Regions from separate parts of the Homo sapiens genome. Here region 2 is linked to region 1. Evidence: promoter capture Hi-C in human tissues and cell types (Jung and others, 2019). All regions are on one chromosome and are shown on one strand. Each heading gives the region's core, a stretch centred on a gene start or on the middle of the fragment in contact. The rest is flanking DNA. Distances are from core to core; before and after follow the strand shown. Region 1 holds the start of THOC2 (THO complex subunit 2). Region 2 has its middle 49 kb from the start of THOC2.

Region 1 (7,072 bases), core at 2,938-5,437:
ATTTCAAAATTAGACTAAGTATTAACATGAGGCTAGCATCTTCAGATTAAGAGCTTCGAATATCAATTCTCCATTAAGGTTGCCTGTAACAAAGAAATGCTGAGTTCACTGTGTTAATGATTTCTACCAAAAACAGAATTCTACACTGGATCTACCAGTACATGCAAGTTTATTAGCTTCATCATGGCAAGTTCTACGTCAATATAAAATAATCAAGAAACTAAAACTAATTCCAAAATTAAGTGATTAAATACATATCTTTCAGAATTTGGAAGAGTTTGCATTTAGATATAAGTATTATTGGAAATTACAATTACATTTTGGTAGTCCTCCTTTGCCCTTCTGATCCCTCTTTAAGATCACTTTAAAGGTCACTCTTTAAGAGTTCTATAATTTAGCATTAAAAACATAATTGGTATCTCTGGAAACATAATGGGATATCTAGATATGTGATGGATGGACCATTCAGATAGGCAAAATACAGTTTTACTTTTCTCTCTAATTACCTAATAAAACATTCTTCAAAGTCAAGACCTTCCATTTAATAGACAGTTGTTTTTCATGGCGTACAGTTAAGAATTTGCCCTATCTGAAAGTTATAAAATGCCCCATACATCTCTTATGTTGCTTTCAACACTAGCTGACTACCACCCCCAGAAAAGATTTATGCTGGTAAGAAGTGACAGACAAGAAATGAATTAACAACCTCATGAAATATATCACATTATTTTTAAAAAGATAATTTTCAGTCAAGTTAAAGCTTATCTGCTAATTTATCTTGTTAAAAAGGAAAAATTCACCCAAGGTATAATTTTAAATATTGGTCATATTCTAAACGCCAAATCTATAGCTTCACTAATAATGTGGTGGCACACTACCTTCATTTTTAACATTTCCAGTTGCTGTTTTATATTTCAGAAGCTGTTTTCAGACAAAGGAAAAAGGTTTTTTGTAATATATTTGCACCACCACGTATTCTGCCTAGTAATATGAAAATGCTAACACCTATCTTTAGGAAGACACAAAAACTCCAAAGACATGCTATATGCAACAAAGTTTCATAGAGGGAAAACAGGTCAAATAAACTGAAACTAAGTACTGGATGGTGATGTGTTTAACTATTTAAAATAGCTTATTATGTTACACAATTTTAAATTCTCTTCCTGTAACAGAATGCAATCATAAAACTGACTATACTGATTTGGATCTACTATAATTCAATCCACATTCCACAAGTCATGCAATAACTACATACACGTAAGTTCTAATAACAGGTTTTTTTGCTGTTGTTTTTGGTTTGTTTTTGTTTGGGTTTTTGTTTTTTTTTTTTTTTTAAAGAGTTTCGCTCTTGTTACCCATGCTGGAGTGCAACAGCGCGATCTCCGCTCACCGCAACTTCCGCCTCCCAGATTCAAGCGATTCTCCCGCCTCAGCCTCCTGAGTAGCTGGGATTACAGGCATGTGCCACCACGCTCGGCAAATTTTGTACTTTTAGTAGAGATGGGGTTTCTCCATGTTGGTCAGGCTTGTCTGGAACTCCTGACCTCAGGTGATCCACCCGCCTCGGCCTCCCAATTTGCTGGGATTACAGGCGTGAGCCACCACGCTCGGCTTCTAATAACAGTTTTTAAGCAGCTCTTCAAACATAAGAACTATGACAGATAGCATGTATTATGTAAATATACATAATGTGAACCTAAAATTCCATTTTATCTAAGTATTTCGATCTCCTACATCACTTTTTCTCAAACCATTACCAGTCAGAAGCCAAGCAGAATTTCACCTTATAGCCCTAATACCACTCATGCTAAGGTGGCAGCAATAATAGTAAAACTGTTGGGAGGCCGAGGTGGGCGGATCACCAGGTCAGGAGATGGAGACCATCCTGGATAACACGGTGAAACTCCGTGTCTAGTAAAAATACAAAAAATTAGCCGGGCGTGGTAGCACGCGCCTGTAGTCCCAGCTACTCAGGAGGCTGAGACAGGAGAATCGCTTGAACGTGGGAGGCGGAGGTTACGGTGAGCCGAGATCGCGCCACTGCACTCCAGCCTGGGCGACAGAGCGAGACTCCGTCTCAAGGGGGAAAAAAAAAAGTAAAACTGTCAAAAAACAGTAGCTGAAAGGAGGAAGCTGAGCAATCTACAAACATAACAGCCCCTAAATAAATGAGCTGGCTTTGAAAGTAAACAAAACAATGAACTGCTTTTATCAGTTTTGGGGGATTACCCTAATATCGATGAAGATGATGGTCTGGCTGGGTAACTTCCCATCTTGCCTTCCCCAAACTTGATGGCTATTTGTCAACTAGCTATCAAACTTGACAGCTATTTGTTAACTAGCACATACGAGGATTTGTAAAATGTTCATTATAGTTAAAAACGAAGATTTATCAAATAGCCTTCTCTGACAATTAATAAACCAATAAGCATTCTAAGCATAGGCTGGGGGGGCGGGGCATGTGTTAAACCAAAAGAAATATGAGACATAGTCCCTATATTTCAAAGGCCTCCCAATTCATTACAGTGCAAGAATAAACACACATGAATAAGTCAGAGACCAATTAATTGCTAACCTGAGTGGTACAGACTTTAAGTGCATGAGCTGTCCTGAGAAGTTTAAATATCTAAAGGTTGGAATAATATTACTTTTAATAGCTATCACTTGAGCACTTACTATAAGCCAAGTGCTTTACAGGCATTATTTAGTCTTCACAACAATCCTTTGAGTAGAGTACTTATTATTCCCAATTTACTCAAGGGGAAACAGTCCAAGTGGTTAAGGAACTTACCCAAGGTCACTCAGCTACTTAAGTGGCTAAGACAGCCGCTTATTTAGGGAATTCTAGAGCTCACACTGTTAAGACTTCATACAGCAGTGCGGGGGGTGCGGGGGAGGAAGCCACATAGGCTGGCACTATTACAAGCGCGGGATCCGGCAACGCGTTCCTCGTGTTTCGTTCCAAGTAACGAAGTTACAAAGATTTGAATCTTTAGCATGAGCCACGGTAAACTGGCTACTAGAAATGGAGAGGGGTGGGCAAGGACGACAAAAATGGCTAACGAGGGTTAATTTCATCCAGGGTTGAGCTTTAGCATCTAAAAGCGACCCAGAGAAGGAAATGAGATGTTATTAATATTTGTTCTTATATCTGAGGTTTGCTTTGCTGCTTAAACGACTCCTTCCAGGGGAAGGGGAGGAGGGAGCGCTCTAACGTGGGGGCGAGAAGACTAGGGGTATGGCAAATTACTGTTTTCGGTGTTACGGGGGAAAGTTTCACGACTAAAGGAAACGCGTTATCCTAGGTACTGGAGAAGCTTGGAGAGCTGCCAGAATTAGTTGCAGTCCCAGGATAAAATGGGGTTTAGGGAACATTTAATGACGAAAGTTGAATCCAACCCGAAATAGCTCTAAGGTGAAAAGACGGAGCAAAGAAATGTCGGTGGTTCTTCAGGGAAAGCGGCAATCCCTGCCACACTTCCCCACGGCGCTACGCGAGGCCGGGACAGTCGAGAGACCGCTCCCCGGGAGGGCGAGAGGTGCCAAACCGGGTTCTTCGCGGCGCCCCGGGCTTCGCGGCAGCGGGCGAAGAGGAGGGGAGGGGAATCCGGGACGGTTCGCCCTCCTTGGACTTCAGGCAGAGGAGGCGCCAAGCTCCAAACTGCGGAGTCCAACGGGTGCAGAGTGAAGAAATGGCACAGAGAGAGATGGAAAGTCCGAATTGCCCCGGCTCAGCCCCATAAAGATAAAGGAGCCAAGTGAGATCAAGCGAAGAGGGGGACACAAAAAGAGACCAAGAGGGAGCGCGGAGACCTGCAGGGGCGGAATAAGAGTTCTACTAAGAGGCTAAAGGAAGCCGAGCTACCGCAGGCAGTAGCGATTTCTGGGAGGCCAGGGAAGGAAGGAGGTCCGCGGCGGTAAACAGCACCTCTCCCCGAGTTCGAAACTCCTAGACGACCATCCACGCCCGCCGCCCGGGTGGGGGAGGGGGTACATCTTTCCCCCTCAACCTCCCACTACAGGTGAGAGTGCAGCTGACGCCCTGGCCCGGCCCGGCAGTGCGCCTGCCTCCGGCCCGAACACTCACAATTCGCCTCTCCCTGATTTCTCCCAGTTCTTTATCCACTCTGCGGGAACCACCACAGCCGCGGCCGCCATCTTCCTCTCACTAGTAGCAGAAGCCCGGATGTGTAGCACGCGAGCGAAGGGTCAAAGGGGAGCACCGCCCACGAGGAATGCCGGGAGCTGAGAGTTCGTTTTTCGATTTCCCGCCCCACTTTCCTCTCCACCCAGCGGAAACCCGAGGCAAGGCAGCCAACGACGTGGAGACTCGCGGGCCCCTTTGCGAGGTTACTACACGGGTTGCGCCCTCCGAAGTCTTCGGCCTTACTTCCCATTAGAACAGAGAAATGCCATCCACAGGCCAACAAGTAGACTTCATCTTCTTCCGTAATATCTACCCCTAACCACTAATACAAACACGCATTTTTCAAGCACCTAATATGTGCTAGACACTGGGAATAGAGAAATAATAGTCTTTGGGAAAGCCATAAATATAAGCAAATAAATTACATTACGCCCTGCTGACTGCTGAGATAAAAGAAAATAATCGGGTCCCTCTCCTTCTCCCTCTCCCTCTCCCGTCTCCCTCTCCCGTCTCCCTCTCCCCACGGTCTCCCTCTCCCTCTCTTTCCACAGTCTCCCTCTGATGCCGAGCCAAAGCTGGACTGTACTGCCATCTCGGCTCACTGCAACCTCCCTGCCTGATTCTCCTGCCTCAGCCTGCCGAGTGCCTGCGATTGCAGGTGCGCGCCGCCACGCCTGACTGTTTTTCGTATTTTTTTGGTGGAGACGGGGTTTCGCTGTGTTGGCCGGGCTGGTCTCCAGCTCCTAACCGCGAGTGATCCGCCAGCCTCGGCCTCCCGAGGTGCCGGGATTGCAGACGGAGTCTCGTTCACTCAGTGCTCAATGGTGCCCAGGCTGGGGTGCAGTGGCGTGATCTCGGCTCGCTGCAACCTCCACCTCCCAGCCGCCTGCCTTGGCCTCCCAAAGTGCCGAGATTGCAGCCTTTGCCCGGCCGCCACCCCGTCTGGGAAGTGAGGAGCCTCTCTGCCTGGCCGCCCATCGTCTGGGATGTGAGGAGCCCCTCTGCCTGGCTGCCCAGTCTGGAAAGTGAGGAGCGTCTCTGCCCGGCCGCCATCCTGTCTAGGAAGTGAGGAGCGTCTCTGCCCGGCTGCCCATCGTCTGGGATGAAGTGAGGAGCGTCTCTGCCTGGCCGCCCATCGTCTGAGATGTGGGGAGTGCCTCTGCCCCGCCGCCCCGTCTGGGATGTGAGGAGCGCCTCTGCCCGGCCGCGACCCCGTCTGGGAGGTGAAGAGCGTCTCTGCCCGGCCGCCCCGTCTGAGAAGTGAGGAGACCCTCCGCCCGGCAGCCGCCCCGTCTGAGAGGTGAAGAGCGTCTCCGCCCGGCCGGCCGCCCCGTCCGGGAGGGAGGTGGGGGGGTCGGCCCCCCGCCCGGCCGGCCGCCCCGTCCGGGAGGTGACGGGCGCCTCTGCCCGGCCGCCGCTACTGGGAAGTGAGGAGCCCCTCTGCCCGGCCACCACCCGGTCTGGGAGGTGTACCCAACAGCTCATTGAGAACGGGCCATGATGACAATGGCGGTTTTGTGGAATAGAAAAGGGGGAAAGGTGGGGAAAAGATTGAGAAATCGGATGGTTGCTGTGTCTGTGTAGAAAGAGGTAGACATGGGAGACTTTTCATTTTGTTCTGTACTAAGAAAAATTCTTCTGCCTTGGGATCCTGTTGATCTATGACCTTACCCCCAACCCTGCGCTCTCTGAAACATGTGCTGTGTCCACTCAGGGTTAAATGGATTAAGGGCGGTGCAAGATGGGCTTTGTTAAACAGATGCTTGAAGGCGGCAGGCTCGTTAAGAGTCATTACCACTCCCTAGTCTCAAGTACCCAGGGACACAAACACTGCAGAAGGCCGCAGGGTCCTCTGCCTAGGAAAACCAGAGATCTTTGTTCACTTGTTTATCTGCTGACCTTCCCTCCACTATTGTCCTATGACCCTGCCAAATCCCCCTCTGCGAGAAACACCCAAGAATGATCAATAAAAAAAAAAAAAAAAGTCAACAGAAAAAAAAAAAAAAAAAAGGAAGGAAAACTTTCCAGAAGAGAGATGTGTCTAGCACAAGAGAAGAGGAATAGTCCTGAGCCTGGAGGATTATTTTGCAGGAATCTCACAGGGCAGTTCCTAATGCAGGAGAATTAAAATAGGCTTTTCCTGGTGTATTTCTTGCAAACATTTTGGGCCAAGTGGCCTTCCCACACCCTCACATGAGCCTGCTTCCCTCCCACTCCTCTGTCATCAGGGCATTTCTGTTTAGGAACAGCAGGTCTAATATTGACTTAAATAAAGCAGACTTGACAGAAAAAAAAAAAAAAAGAAAGAAAGAAAATGTGGCACATATACACCATGGAATACTATGCAGCCATAAAAAATGATGAGTTCATGTCCTCTGTAGGGACATGGATGAAGCTGGAAACCATCATTCTCAGCAAACTATCACAAGGACAAAAAACCAAACACCTCATGTTCTCATTCATAGGTGGGAATTGAACAATGAGAACACTTGGACACAGGAAGGGGAACATCACACACCGGGGTCTGTTGTGGGGTGGGGGGCGATAGCATTAGGATATATACCTAATGTAAATGACGAGTTAATGGGTGCAACACACCAACATGGCCCATGTATACATATGTAACAAACCTGCACGTTGTGCACGTGTACCCTATAACTTAAAGTATAATAAAAAAATTAAAAAAAAAAAAAACACACGTTTGGCAGAAAATACAGACAATCCAAATGAAGAAATCCTACCCCACATATGAACTTTAGAGCTAGTATCTTCTAAATATGGCAAGTTTTGTCAAATGAACCAGGTTCATTTGCATTGAAAAACTATTTAAGTTATGTGCTGTATTCAGAACTGGTTCTGGGAAAATGCTCCATTGTTTATGATTGTTTTTCACCAGCTGTATCTAGTCTTCTAGTGTCCTGTCTC
Region 2 (6,699 bases), core at 2,211-4,710, 50 kb after region 1:
CCCGGGTTCACGCCATTCTCCTGGCTCTCAGCCTCCCGAGTAGCTGGGACTACAGGCGCCCGCCATCATGTCTGGCTAATTTTTTTTTCTTTTTTTTTTTTTTTGTATTTTTTAGTAGAGACGGGGTTTCACCGTGTTAGCCAGGATGGTCTCGATCTCCTGACCTCATGATCCGCCCGCCTCGGCCTCCCAAAGTGCTGGGATTACAGGCGAGAGCCACCGCGCCCGGCCTAGTCTCCTTTATATAGGTGTTACACAATTTCTTCATTAATATCGTATTTATGAGTCACCTATAATGTGCAAGGCACTGTTTGTTCTTGTATGCTGGACATACAAGAATATGTCCCTGTTTTCATGAAGTTTACAATCTAGCTGGGGAGGGAGACAACATTTTTAAAAACAAGTAGCCGAGTGCGGTAGCTCACGCCTATAATCCTTGCACTTTGGGAGGCTGAGGCGGACGGATCATGAGGCTAGGAGTTTGAGACCAGCCTGACCAACATGGTGAAACCCCCTCTCTACTAAAAATACAAAAATTAGCCAGGCGTGGTGGTGCATGCCTGTAGTCCCAGCTACTCAGGAGGCTGAGGCGGGAGAATCGCTTGAACCCAGGAGGCAGAGGTTGCAGTGAGCCAAGATCGCACCACTGCACTCCAGCCTGAGCGACAGAATGAGAATCTGTCTCAAAATAAAACAAAATAAAATAAAATAAAATATGACAATTGGTGACAAGTGTTATAAGGAAAATAAACCTGGGTAAGAGCATAAAGAATAAAAGGAAAGGAATGCTATTTTACATAGGCTGATCAGGGAAGGCCTTTCTGATAGGTAACACTTCAGCAAAAACTTAAAGGAGGTGAATGAATCAGCCATGAGGATATCAAGGTAAAGAGCATTGCAGGCAGTAAGTACAAAGTCCTGAGGCTCAAGCATAACTGGCTTGTTTGAGGAACAGCAGGAAGCTAGTGTGACTGAAGTACAGGTGATAAGATCTGAGTGGTAACCAGGGATCAGGTTATATAAGTCCCTGTAGGTCATGGGAACGATTTTGGATTTTATTCTGAGTGGGTTTAAAAGACACTGGGAGGTTTTAAACTAAGAAGTGACATGTCTGATTTATTCTTTTAAAGGATCAGTCACTTTTATGAGGAGAATAGAATGGCAAAGGTGGAAGCTGGGAACTCAGTTAAATCCAGGAGATAGATGATGGTAGCTTGGGCCAGGGTGGTGGTGAGGGTAATTTGTGCTCAGAACAGAAAGAAGTGAGCCAGGGCCTCTTCCCTCCAGAGGCATTTACCAAGCAAAAGGTGTTCCTTAAGTGAGAGGGACACATGAGACAATGAGTTAGTGACCTGCAGCCACCAGGAAAGTAGACCCTGGACTCTGGATATCTCTCTCTCTGTGTGTGTGTGTCTCTGTCTCTGTCTCTCTCTCTCTCTCTCTCACACACACACACACACACACACACACTCTCTCTCTCTCTCTCTCTCTCTCTCTCTCAACTAGGATTCTGTTGTAGTCTTTGCTCCAGGGGTCATTTGCCCAGCCCAGGAAACAACTGATAGGCAAGCAGTGCTTTGGGGTGGACACTGGGAACTGAAGAAAGCAGCTGAAGCTGTCCACCAGCCAAAGGGGACTCCTAGTGCAAATTACACTCTTGTGCAGAGAGAACTCAAAGGACTACACTCTGGAATATGGAAACAAAAAATTCCTCAAGCTTTGTTTCCAGACCACTAATGCTTTCAGGTGAGTCATGACTAAGGCAAGCTTAGAGAGAGGCCAGAAACCCAGAGAGGTTAGCATAGCATGCAGGGATAGCTTTTAACCTTAAGGTGTTTGACCATTCCAAAGAGGTATGTGAGAAGCTGAGCTGCTCATTTGTTGGTTTATGGGGCTGGGGGACAAAAGGTGGAATCTAAGGTGTACTGTTCCCTGCTTTGGGTTTGGAAACTAGATAGCTACACCCTAGTAGTAAGGACGAACCAGAAGTAAATTAGCCTTCATGACCTCTATAGATCAGATTTATCATTTGAATGGCCCACAAAATACCAAGATTTAAACTTGGAATAAGGTAATCCCGTACTCTTCCCATACTATTAGTGCCCCAGGCACTTGGTAAGGAACAAAAAAATCCTTTCTGGGAAAAGATAATATTATTCCAAGTCTCAAATTATTTCTATAAATAATTCTTCAGGACCGGGCACAGCGGCTCACACCTGTAATCCCAGCACTTTGGAAGGCCAAGGCGGGTGGGTCACCGGAGGTAAGGAGTTCGATACCAGCCGGGCCAACATGGTGAAACCCCATCTCTACTAAAAATACAAAAATTAGCTGGGTATGTTGGCAGGCACCTGTAATCCCAGCTATTCGGGAAGCTGAGGCAGGAGAATTGCTTGAACCCAGGAGATGCAGTTGCAGTGAGTCAAGATCGCGCCACTGCACTCCAGCCTGGGCGACAAAAGCAAGACTCCATCTCAATAATAATAATAACAATAATTCTTCAAATAGGATATCCAACACATAACTAAGGATAATCAGGGGCCAGATGTGGTGGCTTACGCCTGTAATCCCAACACTTTGGGAGGCTGAGGTGGGCAGATCACGAGGTCAGGAGTTCGAGACCAGCCTGGCCATCATGGTGAAACCCCCGTCTCTACTAAAAATACAAAATTTAGCTGGGCGTGGTGGTGGGTACCAGTAATCCCAGCTACTTGAAAGGCTGAGGCAGGAGAATCATTTGAACTCGGGAGGCGGAGGTTGCAGTAAGCTGAGATCGTGCCATTGCACTCCAGCTTGGACAACAGGACGAGACTCCGTCTCAAAAAATAAATAAATAAATAAATAAATAAATAAATAAATAAATAACCAGAGCCAGGCACAGTGGCTCGTGCCTGTAATCCCAGCACTTTCAGGAGGCCGGGGAGGTGGCTCACTTGAGGTCAGGAGTTCAAGACCAGCACACCTGCAGTCCCAGCTACTCAGGAGGCTGAGGCATGAAAATTGCTTGAGCCTAGGAGGCAGAGGTTGCAGTGAGCCGAGATTGAGCCACTGCGCTCCATCGTGGGCAACAGAGTGAGACTCTCTCAAAAGAAAAAAGAAAAAAGATAACGAGACACACAGTGAGAGACAACAAAGATTGAGCAAGAAGCATCAGAAACAACAGACAATACAAATACATCTGCCATCCACTATGACTCTAGATACTGTTAAAACCCCTATTTAAATACTCCTTAAGGAATTAGAAACTGTAAGGTGATACTACAGATTTGAAAACAAACAAACCAACTGGCTGGGCGCATTGGCTCACGCCTGTAATCCCAGCACTTTGGGAGGCGAAGGCAGCAGGTGGATCACCTGAGGTCAGGAGTTCGAGACCAGCCTGGCCAACATGGTGAAACCCCATCTCTACTAAAAATACAAAAATTAGCCAGGTATGGTGGCACATGCCTGTGGTCCCACCTACTTGGGAGGTTGAGGTGGGAGGAGGATCACTTGAGCCCAGGAGGTTGAGGCTACAATGAGCCATGTTTGTACCACTGCACTCCAGGCTGGGCAACAGGGCAAGACCCTGTCTCAAAAAAGAAAAAGAAAAACTGTCAGTAGTAATAAAGTAGAATTTATTTAATCTTATAAAATAGCAAAATGGAATTTCCTTAATCTTAAAAGAAACCTAAAGCAAGCATCAAACTTAAAGAATAAATATTAAAAGCTTTCCCCTATTAATGAGGAATGAGACAATGATATCCATTATCACTATTTCTATTCAATATTTTACTAGGCACAAAACAGCAATAAAAAATAAAAAAATTAAAGGTAAAAATATTAAAGATTAGGGCTGGGCGCAGTGGCTCATGCTTGTAATCCCAGCACTTTGGGAGGCAGAGGCGGATGGATCCCTTGAGGTCAGGAGTTCGAAACCAGCATGACCAACATGGCGAAATTCCTCTACTAAATACAAAAAATTAGCCAGGCTTGATGGCGGGCGCCTGTAATCCCAGCTACTTGGGAGGCTAAAACAGGAGAATCCCTTGAACCCGGGAGGCAGGAGTTGCAGTGAGCTGAGATTGTGCCATTGCACTACAGCCTGGGCAACAAGCGCAAAACCTCGTCTCAAAAAAAAAAAAAAAAAAGAAAAAAAGAAAAAGAAAAAAGAAAAAGTACAGTAAATTATTATAATTAATTAGAGAGTTTAGCAAATTGCTGGATACAAAATTAGCATTCAAAAATAAATTATAGAAGTATTATAGAAGTAAATATTTGTGATCCTGGGATAGGAAATAGTTTCTTAGATAGAGCATCAAAAACACAAATGACAAAAGAAAAAAATAGATAAATAGGGCTTCATAAAAATTTAAAATTTTTGTACACCATAAGTCACCATCAAGAAAGTAAAAAGACAACCTACAGAATGGGAGAAAATATTTGCAAACCATATATCTGACAAGGGACTTTTATCTAGAATGTATAACCTTAACATTCAATAATCTTTAAAAAAAAAAAAGCCCAATTTGTTTTTTTGTTTTTTTTTTTGTTTGTTTTTTGTTTTTTGTTTTTTTTTGAGACGGAGGCTCACTCTGTCACCCAGGCTGGAGTGCAGTGGTGCGATCTCAGCTCACTGCAAGCTCCGCCTCCCAGGTTCACGCCATTCTCCTGCCTCAGCCTCCCGAGTAGCTGGGACTACAGGCGCCTGCCACCACGCCCAGCTAATTTTTTGTATTTTTAGTAGAGATGGGGTTTCACCGTGTTAGCCAGGATGGTCTCGATCTCCTGACCTCTTGATCTGCCCACCTTGGCCTCCCAAAGTGCTGGGATTACAGGTGAGAGCCACCACGCCCAGCCAAAAAAAAAAGCCCAATTTTCAAAAAGGGGCAAAGGGGCCGGGCACGGTGGCTCACGCCTGTAATCTCAGCACTTTGGGAGGCCAAGGCAGGGGGATCAGGAGGTCAGGAGTTCGAGACCAGCCTGGCCAAAGCGACCAGCCTGGCCAACATGGTGAAACCCTGTCTCTACTAAAAATACAAAAATTAGCCGGGCATGGTGGCAGTACCTGTAATCCCAGCTACTCGGGAGGCTGAGGCAGGAGAATTGCTTGAACCCAGGAGGCAGAGGTTGCAGTAAGCTGAGATTGCCCCATTGCACTCCAGCCTGGGCAACAGAGTGAGACTCCTACTCAAAAAAAAAAAAAAAAAAAAGTTGGCGGATGCGGGGACAGCAAAGGGCTTAAGTAGACATTTCTTCAAAGAAGATATACAAATGGCTGATAAAGACATTTAAAGATATTCAGGGCCAGACGTGGTGGCCCACATCTATAATCCCAGCACTTTGGGCTGCCAACGTGGGAGGATATCTTGAGCCCAGGAGTTCACGACCAGCCTGGGCAACATAGTGAGACTATCTCTACATAAAAACAAAAAATAAGGCTGGGCATGGTTGCTCACACCTGTAATCCCAGCAATTTGGGAGGCCGAGGCAGGCAGATCACCTGAGGTCAGGAGTTTGAGACCAGCCTGGCCAACGTGGCAAAACGCTGTCTCTACTAAAAACTACAAAAATTAGCCTGGCATGGTGGCGGGCGCCTGTAATCCCAGCTACTTGGGAGGCTGAGACAGGAGAATCGCTTGAACTTGGGAGGCCGAGGTTGCAGTGAGCCGAGATTGAGCCATTGCACTCCAGCCTGGGTGACAGAGCAAAACTCCATCTCAAAAATAAATGACTAAATAAAATAAAGATGTTCAACATCACTAATCACTAAGGAAATGCAAACCAAAACCACGAGATACCATTTTACATGCAGAAGAATGGCTATAATTTTAGAAAGATAGAGTTTCACAAGTCTAGACGCTGAGCCGCAGCACATTTGCAACGTCACGTGGAAGCTGAAACTGCACCTCCCACGTGGCCCCTCTAGCCAGCTGAGAACCTCAGATAAGAACTACACCCAGGCCAGCACCAGCAGCTCAGCCACTAGCAGCAGCCCCACCCTCTGCAGCTGGCTCTCCTGCTGCTGCACTCCGCGGCAGCCAGGTCTGATGGCCCGGGCGGCAATCACTGCAGCTGGCATGGCTGTGGACTCTGCTGTGGGGCACATACTGGGTCATGCCATCAGTGGGAGCTTCAGTGGAGTAAATAATGCTGAGCCCCCAAGTGGTGACATCACTTACCAGAAGCCTCAGGGAACCCACCCGGCACAGCAGCAGTAGGCTTTCTTGTATGAGATAAAATGGTTTTTGGAATGTGCCCAGAATCAGGGAGACATAAAGTTCTGTGAGGGTTTCCATGAGGTGGTGAAACAGTGCAGACTTGCAAATGGATTTATCTAATCAAGAAGTTCAAATTGAAGAAATGGAAAATCAGCTCTCACAACTAAGTTAATTTAGCATAAAAACATAATTGATAGCCGGGCGTGGTGGCTCACGCCTGTAATCCCAGCACTTTGGGAGGCCGAGGCAGGCGGATCACCTGAGGTGGGGAGTGCGAGACCAGCCTAACCAACATGGAGAAACTCCGTCTCTACTAAAAAAAAAAAAAATACGAAAAATGAGCCGGGCGTGCTGGCGCATGCCTGTAATCCCAGCTACTCGGGAGGCTGAGGTAAGAGAATCACTTGAACCCAGGAGCTGCAGGTTGTGGTGAACCGAGATCATGCTATTGCACTCCAGCCTGGGCAACAAGAGCAAAATCTGTCTCAAAAAAAAAAAG

What was found. The method cuts DNA at HindIII sites, captures the fragments that hold promoters and counts their contacts. A contact is called where the count stands out against the background at its distance.
Region 2: a fragment that was not itself captured here is called in contact with the fragment with the promoter of THOC2 in region 1 in 2 of the 25 tissues and cell types used here (adrenal gland and neural progenitor cells).

Annotation. Positions count from the first base shown.
Region 1 is chrX:123,728,865-123,735,936 of GRCh38, forward strand. It overlaps THOC2 (THO complex subunit 2), which reads right to left and starts at 4,188. Exons shown (of 39, transcript NM_001081550.2): 1 at 4,088-4,188. The coding sequence starts at 4,158. RefSeq lists an enhancer at 4,124-4,203. The HindIII fragment of the contact is 14,729 bases long and covers 2,039-7,072 here.
Region 2 is chrX:123,779,141-123,785,839 of GRCh38, forward strand. It overlaps the pseudogene CHCHD2P1. Among named protein-coding and RNA genes, the nearest start is that of THOC2, 49 kb to the left of the region's middle. RefSeq lists an enhancer at 5,681-5,860. The HindIII fragment of the contact is 6,704 bases long and covers 109-6,699 here.